Linked DNA regions of Homo sapiens: region 1 is linked to region 2. The links are contacts of gene promoters, found by promoter capture Hi-C in blood cells and fetal thymus (Javierre and others, 2016). All regions are on one chromosome and are shown on one strand. The core of a region is centred on a gene start or on the middle of the fragment in contact, and the rest is flanking DNA. Distances in the headings are between cores, read along the strand shown. Region 1 overlaps CELF1 (CUGBP Elav-like family member 1). Region 2 holds the start of FAM180B (family with sequence similarity 180 member B).

What was found. The method cuts DNA at HindIII sites, captures the fragments that hold promoters and counts their contacts. A CHiCAGO score of 5 or more calls a contact.
Region 1: a contact is called between a fragment that was not itself captured here and the fragment with the promoter of FAM180B in region 2, in 5 of 17 cell types (M2 macrophages, M1 macrophages, M0 macrophages and 2 more). The highest score is 12.0, in M2 macrophages.

The regions. Positions count from the first base shown.
Region 1 is chr11:47,481,676-47,488,252 of GRCh38, forward strand. It overlaps CELF1 (CUGBP Elav-like family member 1), which reads right to left. Exons shown (of 15, transcript NM_001376376.1): 5 at 5,484-5,566; 6 at 5,075-5,123; 7 at 2,714-2,848; 8 at 1,778-1,857; 9 at 1,020-1,181. Among named protein-coding and RNA genes, the nearest start is that of RAPSN, 36 kb to the left of the region's middle. The HindIII fragment of the contact is 9,324 bases long and covers 1-6,122 here.
Region 2 is chr11:47,584,095-47,590,786 of GRCh38, forward strand. FAM180B (family with sequence similarity 180 member B) reads left to right here and starts at 2,584. Exons shown (of 3, transcript NM_001164379.3): 1 at 2,584-2,759; 2 at 3,657-3,727; 3 at 3,945-5,100. The coding sequence starts at 2,675. The coding sequence ends at 4,340. It overlaps NDUFS3 (NADH:ubiquinone oxidoreductase core subunit S3), which reads left to right. Exons shown (of 7, transcript NM_004551.3): 7 at 220-468. The coding sequence ends at 387. C1QTNF4 (C1q and TNF related 4) reads right to left here. Exons shown (of 2, transcript NM_031909.3): 2 at 5,573-6,692. The coding sequence ends at 5,727. RefSeq lists silencers at 3,289-3,489, 5,114-5,314. The HindIII fragment of the contact is 7,265 bases long and covers 350-6,692 here.

The DNA of each region.
Region 1 (6,577 bases), core at 211-2,710, 100 kb before region 2:
GTGGTTTTAACTGTCTTGTGCTGGCCCAATTCTTTTCCATTAATAATCCCCTGTAACATATACACTGCAGACCTAGTAAATCTAAATCACAAATTGGGGCGAGACCTTCTTTTGGACTAGACAACCTTCTTTTGGCTCACGACAACAGAGAGATCAAATTAAAGGAAGTCTATTTACAATGTAGTAAACTTGAATATACACCTGTAATGCTCATTTAAAAATGTTCATGTTAATCTCTTGATCTCCGCCAGGCGCAGTGGCTCACACCTGTAAACCCAGCACTTTGGGAGGCCAAGACAGGTGGATCACCTGAGGTCGTGAGTTCGAGACCAGCCTGGCCAACACAGTGAAAGCCCATCCCTACTAGAAATACAAAAATTAGCTGGGTGTGATGGTGTGTGTCTGTAGTCCCAGCTACTTGGGAAGTTGAGGCAGGAGAATCACTTGAACCCGAGGTGGAGGTTGCAGTAAGCCAAGATTGTGCCACTGCACTCTAGCCTGGGTGACAGAGTGAGTGAGACTCCGTCTCAAAAAATAAATAAATAAATAAATAAATAAAGCAAAAAAAGAAAAAAAATCTCTTGATCTCTCAAGTCCGCTGAAAGAAACATTTATCATACTCTTTAGGAAAGACTCAATAAGGATTTTAATGATGCCCTCTACATCTGGTAGAAAGAGATATGGAGAAAGACACTGGTAGTTAAGATTCCCTCAGGAATTTCTTTCTTGGAGGCAAGGACACAAGATGTTTCTAAATCTTTAAAACGGGAAACCAGGAATTCACTTTAGTTGCAGCAAAAGCCTCAAGATATAACCAGAGATGCATGTCCAGAGATACATATATATAGAGAGAGAAAGAGACTAACAGGACTAAAAGAAATAGTACTACCTGAATTTTTACATATAATTTCTATATGCCAAAAGTTGTAAATGCCACTGTGTTTGTTGGCTAGGGACAGCAGAAGAAGGAACAGCTGGGAGCTTGCACAGTCTGCAGAAAGCAAACCACAAAGACTCACTGCTAAATACTGGGGTCCAAGAGTATTTAGACCAGCAAGGTTTCCCCACACAGATGCTGCGCTGATTTGCTGCATCTGCTGCTGGAGCTGCTGGGCCATTCTCTTCTGTTCTTTGTCCTTCTGTGTATCAGCAAATTTTACCACCATGGGTGATGAGCAACCCTGTGAAAAGACCATAACGAAAGGGTCAAATTCCTCCATCTGAAAAGAAGAAAAAAAATCTTCCTTTTGGATGACATGCAGGTTACATTCTAATTTCATTCACTGCCAAATGATTCTCCTCATGATAGACACAAGAGAGAAGAGACTGTAATCCCAACACTTTGGGAGGCTGAGGCGGGTGGATCACTTGAGCCCAGGAATTTTAGACCAGCCTGGGCAACATGGCAAAACGGTCGCTATTAAAAAAAAATACAAAAATTAACTGGGCGTGCTGGTGTGCACCTGTAGTCCCAGCTACTTGAGTGGCAGAGGTAGGGGGGATCACTTGAGCCTGGGTGGTTGGGGCTGCAGTGAGCCATGATATTCCCACTGCACTCCAGCCCAGGTGACAAAGTAAGACCCCATCTCAAAAAAAGGGGTAGGGAGAGCATTTCCAATACGTTAATTTTAAAGAAATCAGTGGTTTTTAACTTTAAGATGTTGGCTGTTTAACCTTCTGGGCAATCAGATGCTGCACATGCTGCTGGACTTTAATGGCCAACTGTCCCAGCATTCCCAAGCTGAGGAATTTTCCCCATCACCTATCTGCTCCCTACCTCCATGGTCTGTGCTTGGTGCATTGCCTTGATAGCCGTCTGTGCCATGGCTCTTGTTGTAAAAGTCACAAATGCACAACCTGGTAAGAGAAGAGTCAGTAACTCATGCATTCATTTATTTCTCTGACAAACATTAACTGAGCACCTACTATGTGCTGACTATCATGCTAGCAATACAGACACAGTCCCTGTTTTCAGGGAATCATGTGCTGGTATGTTGCAACAGGGTGATATGTGCTATAATGAAAAAACAGAACCACTGACAGAAAAAAAAAATGCTTGACAGGAGAAAGGAGGACTCATATCCTCTAGTTCCTCTTGAAAATAAAAGAAAATGGAAGAAGAAAGTATTTCCATTTTGGCATCAAGGATCTTGCAAAGCACCAAAAGAGAAAATTTTAATACATGACAATGAAATATAGAATGTAGACTCCTTAGAGGGGCTGGGAGACAAAAAGAATGAACTGATAGGAGGAGTCAAGACAGGACATAGATATACAGCAGGAAGCAGCAGGCCCAACCTCTTTATCTTGACTGGGCCATATTGGCTAGGGAATCACTGTTGCTAGTTTCCACCGGTCAAATTAAAAAGATTCCAAGCCCGGTGCAGTGGCTCACACCTACAATCCTGGCACTTTGGGAGGCCAAGATGACAGGATCGTTTGAGTCCAGGAGTTCAAGACCAGCCTGGGCAACACAGGGAGACCTTTTCTCTATAAAAAATTTAAAAATTAGCTGGGTGTCATGATGCATGCCTGTGGTCCCAGCTACTCAGGAGGCTGATCCTGGGAGGTTCAGGCTGCAGTGAGTTGTGAAGGCACCACTGCACTCCAGCCTGGGTGAGAGAGAGCAAGACCTTGTCTCCAAAAAAAAAAAAACCCCAAACCAAACCAAAACAAAAAACCAAAAGATTATTTAAAAGCTAAAACTACCTACCTCGGCTCAGGCCATCAGGTCCCCGCAATATCCGGCATTCTTCAATCTGTCCAAACGAAGAGAACATGACTCGGATGTCATTTTCAGTGCACTTCTTGGAAATCATACCAATAAACAGCTTCCTGTCTTCCACTGCTAAGAGAGTAAAACAGAAAAGACTTGAATATTACTACTTAAAGAGGCAATGTGGCACAGATTTGGGAGCCAGACCGCCTGGGTTTGAATCCTGGCTCTGTACCATATTTTACAGATTCAAAGACACACATTTGTTTTTTGTATTTTTCACATCTCTTTTTTTCTTGTTTTTGAGATGGAGTTTCGCTCTTGTTGCCCAGGCTGGAGTGTAATGGCGCGATCTCGGCTCACCGCAAGCTCCGCCTCCCGGATTCAAGTGATTCTCCTGCCTCAGCCTCCTGAGTAGCTGGGATTACAGGCATGCGCCAAAATGCCTGGCTAATTTTGTATTTTTAGTAGAGATGGGGTTTCTCCATGTTGGTCAGGCTGTTCTTGAACTCTCGACCTCAGGTGATCCACCCGCCTCGGCCTCCCAAAGTGCTGGGATTACAGGTGTGACCCACCACGCCCGGCTTCACGTCTCTTTTTATAACCAATGTTATCTTAAAATTATAATTAGAAGCATTTAGATGAAATATGGTAGCTTTGTAATCTTGTGAAAGTTACTCAACCATTCTGTGCCTGTTTCCTCATCTAACTAATAGGAATAATCAGGTTTACTTCAAAGGGTAGCAGTTGCTATTAAATGTGAAGTACTTGGCATCTTCCCTAGTCCTTTGTATTGTTTCCTCTTTTTGAGACAAGAGTCTCGCTGTCACCCAGGCTGAAGTGCGGTGGCATGATCATGGCTCACTACAGCCTTGACCTGCCGGGTTTAAGCAATCTTCCCACCTCAGCTTCCCGAATAGCTGGGACCACAGGTATGTACCACCACACCCAGCTAATTTTTTGCAGAGAGGTTTCACTCTTATTGCCAAGGCTGGTCTCAAACTCCTGGGCTTACGCAATCCTCCGGCCTCAGCCTCTTAAAGTGCTGTGATTACAGGTGTGCGCCACTGTGCCCAGCCAGCATTGTTTGCTCTTACTGGCAATACTACTAAAGAAAGAAGAGGTTTTCACACTTGATATGACAAGTGGAAGAGAATACACCTTTCAGTGAATGTAACTGTCTACTTTTCTGAATTTTTTTTTTTTTTGAGACAGAGTCTTGCTCTGTCACCCAGGCTGGAGTGCAGTGGCACGATCTCAGCATACTGCAACCACCGTCTCCTGGGTCCAAGCGATTCTCCTGTCTCAGCCTCCTGAGTAGCTGGGATTACAGGCATGCACCACCACACTCAGCTAATTTTTGTATTTTTAGTAGAGACAGGGTTTCACCATGTTGGCCGGGTGATCCGCCCGCCGTGCGCTCCCAAAGTGCTGGGATTACAAGCATGAGCCACCTCACCTGGTCCTGACTATCTTCTTGAGAATTAAGGCCAGGCGTGGTGGCTCACGCCTGTAATCCCAGCACTTTGGGAGGCCGAGGCGGGCGGATCACAAGGTCAGGAGATCGAGACCATCCTGGCTAACACAGTGAAACCCCGTCTCTACTAAAAATACAAAAAATTAGCCGGGCGTGGTGGCAGGCACCTGTAGTCCCAGCTACTCGGGAGGCTGAGGCAGGAGAATGCAGTGAACCCGGGAGGCGGAGGTTGCAATGAGCTAAGATCATGCCAGTGTACTCCCGCCCAGGCAACAGAGTGAGACTCCATCTCAAAAAAAAAAAAAAATTCGAGAATTAAGTTCTCCTTCCTAATTTGTTCATTTTGCCCCCTCATTCCTGTCCAAAAGAAATTATACTGACCAAGTATATTCCAGTTCATTCTACAATGTTCTTATAATATTTCTCTGTCAGCTCTGTTCTTCATCATACTTTTAAAGAAAAAACTGAGACAACTTAGACAACGGATTACTTAAAGCACAATTCAATTCAGATAACCTAAGAACAGCAAACAAACTAGGCAGAAATCTTTTTTTTTTTTGAGACAGAGTCTCACTCTGTTGCCTGGGCGGGAGTACACTGGCATGATCTTAGCTCATTGCAACCTCCGCCTCCCGGGTTCAAGAGATTCTCATGCCTCAGCCTCCTGAGTAGCTGGGATTACAGGCATGCACAACCATACCCAGCTAATGTTTGTATTTTTAGTAGAGACGGGGTTTCACCATGTTGGCCAGACTGGCTCGAACTCCGGCCTCAAGCAATCCATCTGTCTTGGCCTCCCAAAGTGCTGGGATTACAGGTGTGAGCCACCGTGCCTGGCCTAGGCAGAAATCTTAAGGGGAAGATTGTATACATTTGCTTACCATTGTTCTTCTCACTGTCAGCAGGTTTCATCTGTATAGGGTGATGCATCTGAAAAGGAAAAATATGATTATTATCACTGTATATATTGATGGTATTCAAAAATACATATGGACTCTAAAATACCAGAACTAGAGCTTTAAAGAGTTCTCTCTGAACTCATGTCTGCTTCATGATCTTTCCCCAGAAAACAGAATGTGAGTCAAGAAGTCAAAATACACAAGACTCTTGACTGAGAGAGAACTAATGTCAGGTAATCTCTGAACTGCTCCCTTTATGTCTTCCTTTACATCAATTCCTGCAGCAGTTACCTTTTCCCCAAAATGGTTTTCAGTGTGTGTCTGATATGTGTAAGTATATCCCACATATCAAAGTTACCACATTTCCATTTACTAGTGGGAGCTTTCTTACCCCTGGGAGGACTTTCATGTTGTGAAGAGCATTCTGAGCTTCTAATGCAGCTTTACGGGTGTAAAATGTAACAAAACAGCACCCTGCAATAAATAAGATTTCATAAAATCAAACTTTGGAAAGCAGAGAATTCCTAGAGCAATCCTTCCTCCACTGACAGATCAGATCTTAAAAGAGGGCTGGGTTTATTAAAATTAGTGAGAGGGGGAGGGTAGTGGAAAAGAACGAATAGAATATCTAGCAGAGGAATAAGAGATTATTTTCTATACACTTTATTGTTTTAGTCTCCTCCTAGTTAGTTACACTATAAGTCTTATTTAGCTGCTCATGTAACTTCTCTGGAAAATACGACTTCTCATAAAGAAAGGTCATGTGCCATTTGACTCAACCTACCCTACTTGGAACACCAGGTGGTATATGAGACAAGAAGACAGATGGGGCTCTATACTTTTGCAGCCTGTAGTCTACCAGGAACTCTTTCTTTCCCTGCTCTCTCAGAATAAACCACTCCCTACTTCGTAGCCAGATTCTACCATATGCCTCAAACATAATTATCACTTATTAAATTATAAAATGACTTAAGAGCAAGCACCTCTTAACATCTTTTTTTGGACTCTTGGTTCTCATCAAATATAATTAAGCTTCTAAAAGCACATGGTGCTGCCTCAGATCTGTAGATTTTGTGCTTTGTATCTTTATTTTGGGTAGTAGGAGAGGAAGTATATCTTGTAAATCTTGGGCTTAAATGTTCTGACACTCCCATATTCTCATGAGATACAATATAGATTTTTTTTTAAATCATGCTGCAGCAGTTAGAACTACAAATTACTGAAGGTTATATTGCCAGTCATGTTCAGAAACTATTATACTTTATATTTTTAGTTAACCATGCCAAAAAGAGAAAGTAATTCCTCTGCTTCTAGATCCTCTGCTATTAAGCTAGTTTCAATATGATAATCATGCTTGCTTACATTTGCACTGTTGGACAGCTTTCACAGAAAATTATTTGAAAACTGGTAAAATGGAAAATAAGAACATGTCTGTGTGTATATACGGGGCAAAGTTAATACCTATCTACCATCAGTCTTGTGAAA
Region 2 (6,692 bases), core at 1,334-3,833:
GGTATCCTACATTTTGGAATCACACACTCTAGCTGGTTGGGATGTGATCTGACGGGTAACACAGGTATGGATGGAGACTTACTGACAGAGGCTGGGACAGGAGTCAGTAACCGAGAGGAATGGGCTGGGGAAGTCACCAATAGCCTTGTGAAAAGTAGGCTCCTGTGTAGCTATAATAAGGACTTCCTTAGTGCTCAAGCCTGCCTTTTGCTCCTGCAGTTACGTTATGATGATGAAGTGAAGCGGGTGGTGGCAGAGCCGGTGGAGTTGGCCCAAGAGTTCCGCAAATTTGACCTGAACAGCCCCTGGGAGGCTTTCCCAGTCTATCGCCAACCCCCGGAGAGTCTCAAGCTTGAAGCCGGAGACAAGAAGCCTGATGCCAAGTAGCTCCAGGGAACGCATGTGGATCCTAGACAGCGCCTTATCTATGATTGAGTGTCCGTGTAAATAAATTCCTACTTAGACTTACCACTTTGTGTGTGCTTGTAATGTGGAGAAGTGATGCTTTGGGGGGGACACAGGCAGGCAGGGGTGTTTCCCTGCTCTCTTAGAGAGGCACTACTAAACCAGGGAGTCTTTGATGGGTTTTTTTTTTTTTTTTTGAGACAGTGTTTCGCTCTTGTTGCCGAGGCTGGAGTACAATGGCGTGATCTCGGCTCACCACAACCTCCGCCTCCTGGGTTCAAGTAATTCTCTTGCCTCAGCCTCCCGAGTAGCTGGGATTACAGGTGTGTGCCACCACACCTGGCTAATTTTGTATTTTTAGTAAAGACGGGGTTTCTCCATATTGGTCAGGCTGTTCTTGAACTCCTGACCTCAGGTGATCTGTCTGCTTCGGCCTCCCAAAGTGCTGGAATTATAGGCGTGAGCCACTGTGACCAGCTCTTTTATGTTTTTTTGAGATGGAGTCTCGCTCTGTCACCCAGGCTGGAGTGCAGTGGTGCTGTCGCAGCTCGCTGCAACCTCCACCTCCCAGGCCCAAGCGGTTCTCCCCCCTCAGCCTCCCAAGAAGCTGGGATTACAGATGCACGCCACCACGCCCAGCTAGTTTTTATAGTTTTTGTAGAGATGGGATTTCACCATGTTGCCCAGGCTGGTCTCGAACTCCTGGCCTCAAATGATCCACACTGGCCTCCCAAAGTGCTGGGATTATAGGCGTGAGCCACCACACTCAGCCGGAGGTCTATTTTAATGGGACTAAAGAGTGTAGTTGCAGACGTGGTGGCCTGCAGGCATGGATGTATTTCTGAGAGGGATTCTGGAGCTGTAACTGAAAGTTCTCACAGTCCACAGGGTTCAGGATGGGTGTGGCATGGTAGCCAATCACTCTTGGGCTACAGGAATCTCCCTGGTTTCTGGCCTGAGCTGAGAATGGTGGGGTTCTTTTTTTCTTCTTCTTTTTTTTTTTTTTTTGAGATGGAGTTTTGCTATTGTTGCACAGGCTGGAGTGCAATGGCATGATCTTGGTTCACTGTGACCGCCGCCTCCCGGGTTCAAGCAACTCTGCCTCAGCCTCCCGAGTAGCTGGGATTACAGGCTTGCGCCACCACGCCCGGCCAATTTTGTATTTTTAGTAGAGATGGGGTTTCTCCATGTTGGTCAGGCTGGTCTCAAACTCCCGACCTCAGGTGATCTGCCCGCCTCGGCCTCCCAGAGTGCTGGGATTACAGGCGTGAGCCACCGCGCCAGGCTGGTGGGGGTTTTTTGAGACAGGGTCTTGGTCTGTCACCTAGGCTAGAGTGAGTACAGCAGTGTGATCGTGGTTCACTGCAGTCTAGACTGCCTGGGCTCAGGTGATCCTCCCACCTCAGCCTCCTGAGTAGCTAGGACCACAGGTGTGTACCACCATACCCAGCTAATTTATTTGTAGAGATGAGGGCTCACCATGTTGCCCAGGCTGGTCTTGAACTCCTGGGCTCAAGCCATCCTCCTGTCTTGCCCTCCTAAAGTGCTGGGATTACAGGCATGAGCCACCGTGCCCGCTCTGAATTAAGAATGTTGCTAGGAAACAAGAGGTCCCAGGGCTGGGGCAAAAACCACTCAGGAGCTGCAGATTTGTCTGTCTGCCAGGGGACAATACGCCCTAGCCCAGCTGATCTGTCTGTCCAGCCTGCGGCAGAGTGCCTGAGAGGGGAGTGCTTGGCTCTGCCTGTCTGTGGGGCCGCCCAGCCAGCCCACCATGCAGTTGGAAGACTTTGCAGCTGATGCTTTTGGCAGCTGAGGGGCTCCTTGGAGGCTGGGCTGGGCCAGACTGGGTGTCGGGGCTGGCCTCAGTCGCAGGATATTTTGAGGGCGCAGACAGTAAGATGGTCTTACTGCCTGAGCTCTTTCCTACCCTTTGGGAGGGCCAAGCTACAGCTATTTGCTACCAAACACCTTTTTCCTATTAACTAAGCATACCGCCCAGCTGGGCAGGAACAGGCTGAGGGCCTGACAAGCAGGGAGCCAGGCTCCTGCCAACAACCAAAGATTCCCCATTTCTAAAGGATGGAAAGAGCCCCTGGGAGGTGACCGAGGCCACAGCCAGCCCCTCCCTGTTCAGCACTGAAGAATGACACGCATTACAGAGCTCTGGAGCAGCCCGCAGTGGAAAGTTGGAGCTGAGGTGTGTGGCAGGCAGATGAGGGAGCAGAGAACTGCTGAACAGAGTGAGACTCAGAGGACGTGGTTGAGCATGGCTGCGACCCTGCAGTTCCTGGTTTGCCTGGTGGTAGCCATTTGTCTCCTCTCTGGTGTGACTACAACCCAGCCCCATGCAGGTACCAGGCTTCAGGGTGGGTGGAGAGGAGCCAAGGCTGCTGGCTGACAGCAGTTAACAGTTGGCTCTATTTGAGGCTAGTCGGGCATAGAAGCGTGGGCATGGTGGGTACCAGGCTGATGTGTGCTGTGGTGGGTGACAGTGTGGGCCCCACCCCCAGAACTGGAAAGGTACAGGTGACACCTAGGGAGATAGCCCTAGGTGCTCTTAATGCTGGCCCTGGGCTCATTCCCACTGATGCCCAAAGCAGGGTCTCTTGACCTGCCTGGGCTTGGAACAAACATTGCAAGGGTGAGGCAACACCCCAAGGTGTGGGCCGGACGGAGCTGCCACAGACATCCTCCCCTGCTCTGTCCTCCCTGCCTCACATCCTCCCCTGCCCCGTCCTCCCTGCCTCACATCCTCCCCTGCTCTGTCCTCCCTGCCCTGTCTTCCTCCTCCCTCCCTTACTGCTGAGGAGGAGCAGGGAGAGTAGGCTCTTTCCAAAGAGGTCTTTGTCCTTGGGAGAGTCACTGGCACTGTTTTAGGTGACTTTATCCTCAGATGACTATAGGGAGGGGAGGAGGGTGGGGAAGGGTCTTGTGACCCGTTGGCCTGGAGCTCTTTAACAAGGGCATTGTGCAATTTAAAGGAGGTGTCCTGGGCATTTGCCAACATGGTAACTGGGCTTGGAATGATGCTTTTGAGATCAGAGGACCTATGCCTGGGAGGGTGAATGTCAATGTGCATGTGTGTGCGTGAGAGGGAGGGGAAAGGAGGGCATGGGATGGCATTCCTGCCCTTTTGTAGAATGATGAAGCACTCGGGACCTCTACCAGGCAGCAGAGGGGCACTTCTGGGAGGCTGGGGTGTTCATGGTGTAGCATGGCAGGGGCCTGACTCCTCTCTGCTGCCCCAGGGCAGCCCATGGACAGCACCAGCGTGGGAGGTGGCCTGCAGGAGCCAGAGGCCCCGGAAGTGATGTTTGAGGTCTTTCCTCCCAGCCTGGGACATGGGGGTGGGCACGTCCAGAGGTCCCTAAGCTCAGGGTTGGGAAGGGGGATGTCTCAGGGTGGACCTGCTAGGGTTGGGTGGGGCAAGCCAGCATGCGTCCTGCTGCCTGCTTCTGCCCCTTCCCCCAGCCCACTCTTGCTCCCTGCCCTGCTCCCCAGGCCACAGCCCACCCCTTACATGGCTCCCCTTGCAGCTGCTCTGGGCTGGGCTGGAGCTGGATGTCATGGGGCAGCTGCACATCCAGGATGAGGAACTAGCGTCCACACACCCAGGCCGCCGACTCAGACTCCTCCTGCAGCACCACGTGCCCAGTGACTTGGAGGGCACTGAGCAGTGGCTGCAGCAGCTCCAGGACCTGCGGAAGGGGCCTCCTCTTAGCACTTGGGACTTTGAACATCTGCTCCTCACAGGCCTGTCCTGCGTCTACCGGCTCCACGCAGCTAGTGAGGCTGAGGAACGGGGCCGCTGGGCCCAGGTCTTCGCTCTCCTGGCACAGGAAACACTCTGGGACCTGTGCAAAGGTTTCTGCCCCCAGGACCGGCCCCCTTCCCTGGGGTCCTGGGCCTCCATCCTTGACCCCTTCCCCTGACCCTCCTCTTTTGTTCTTTCACCTGCCATTACCCCCTCCCATCTCCTCCTCAACCCCCCAGGCAGACCCATCTTGCGCAGGGGCTTCTGTCTGGCATCTGATTCTTTTCACCGTGTTCAGATCTCTGGGCTTGGCTTGCACCCTGGACACCCCCTCTCTGCTTACCCCGACCAGATCTTGTTTCCTAGATCTTGAGAGGCTAAGAACCCAGGCTCTGGGTCGCAAGGAGTGCGCAAGGAGTGGGCACAGAGCTAAGGGCACGACTTGCAGGCAGTGTGTGTGTGAGTGTGTGTGTGTGTGTGTGTGTGTGTGTGTGTGTGTGGAGATCAGGGGTCAGGGTTGAGAAGTGTGTTCAAGAGATGCTGAAGGGAAGCTGCCCCAAGTAAGGCCTGGTCAGACCTTCCAACTCCTACCCTGGCAGTCTGTGACAGGTCCTGTGGAATTCACAGGAATCCTCTAGGTGCTGAGCATCCCCTTTTAGGCACAACCAAGGATTTGGGGTCTCTGAGCCTCCAAGTTCCCATCTGGGTTGGGAGAATCGACTTTTTGAGTTCTGTCAGTTGGAAGAGTGGAGGGAAGCAGGGGGAGGGAGGAACATTATCTCTTTTGGGGTAGGGAGGCAATATCTCAACAAGCGTCGGGTGAATACCTCAGAGGGGGGAGTAAGGCTGGGAGACCAAGGAGAGACAAGCGGAGGTGGGCTGGAGCAGGTGTGGCCCTGATTCTGTGTTGCTCTTCTCATAAAATGTTCTGTTTCGGCCTCCTGGAGCCTGTGTCATTCTATGTCGGAATAAGCGTCTAACCCCTGCTCTGGGCAAATCACTCTCCCCATCCCGGGAAGGCAAGAGTCAGGGCAACCAGGTATCAACTCCTCATCTCATTCCCACGCCCTGCTGGAAGAAGGAATGCACTGTTTCCTTGAATCCCATGCACCCTGTGGGGTAATGGGGTGCTGTTCCTTGTCACAGAAAGGCATCAGCCGGGGGCTAAGGCTGAGGTCGTAGGTCAATGATGAGTCAGAGGGCTAGACGAGGTAGGGATATAAAAGGGAGGCCCCCAACGGACTAGGCGAATGTGGTTCCATCAAATTCCCACCTCCTCACCCTCCCAGGGTCCAAGGGGACCTTGCTTTCCAACCTCCAACCCCTTCCCCGGGCCTGCGGGCCCGCAGTAGTCAGCACCTTCCCGCCTGCCGCCGGCGAATGCGTCGCAGTCAAGACAGCGCAGGGGCCTGGGCTGCCGGGCGCTGCGCGTGCCCGCTTTCCGCTTTATTGGCAGAGTCCAGGCGCGCCCGGAGGCCGTGGCGCTCGCGCGGGACTTTCGAGCCTCCGGCCCGGCCTGGCATGCACGCCCCTGGCCCTCCCGGGCTCTTCTCTGGCCCGGGGCTCACAGTAGCTCCGAGGCCCCGAGGCCCGGCGGGGCGGCGGGGGCGAGGTCGGGGTACACCAGGAAGCCGGAGAAGGTGATGTACTTGCCGTGGTTGCTGTAGGCGCCGTAGCCGTCGTGGTCGTGGCTGAGCAGCCAGACGGCGTCGCCGCGCCGCAGGGCCAGCATCACGCTCTGGCTCTGCATCTCGCGGCGCCGCGACGCGCCGTCGTCGTAAATCATGGCCTGCACCTCGTCGCGGTTCTTCATCAGCTTAACCGACAGCGTCTTACGCGGCAGCTTGCCCAGCGTGAAGGAGAAGAAGTAGGCGCCGGGCAGACGGCAGCGGAACACGCCGGCCGCCGCGTCGAAGTCGCCGCCAATGTTGACGAACTCGGTGTCGAAGGCGAGTGGTTGGTGCCGCGGCCCGGGGCCAGCGTCCGAGCCCACCAAGCTGCGCGTGCGCGCCGCCGAGAAGGCCGAGCGCGGCTCGGGGGGCGCGGGCGGCCCGCGCGCAGGCGCGTCAGCGTCGGCGTCGGCGTAGACTAGGTAGCCGCTGAAGGTGGCGCCGGGCGCGCCTAGCGCGTACTGCGGGGCGCCATGCAGCCGCAGCCACACTGTGTCGCCGTAGTCGAGCTGCAGCATGGCGCTCTGGCTGGCTGCGCGCCGCGCGCCTGGCCGCCGCTGCTCGTCGAAGGCCAGCGCCTGCACCTCGTCGCGGTTTCGCACCAGCATCACCGACAGGCTCTTGTGCGGGGCCTTGCCAGCCGTGAAGGAGAAGAAGTAGGCGCCGGGCACGCGGCAGCGAAACTGGCCGGTGGCCACATCGAAGTCGCCCCCGATGTTCACGTACACCTTGTCGAAGGTCACCGCCATCTCCGACGTGCCCTCCAGGGGGGTGGTGCGTGCCGCCGAGAAGGCCGAGCGCAGCTCAGAGGATCCCGGGCCGGGGGTCGGGCCCAGGGCCCAGCAGGCCGCTGGGCCCAG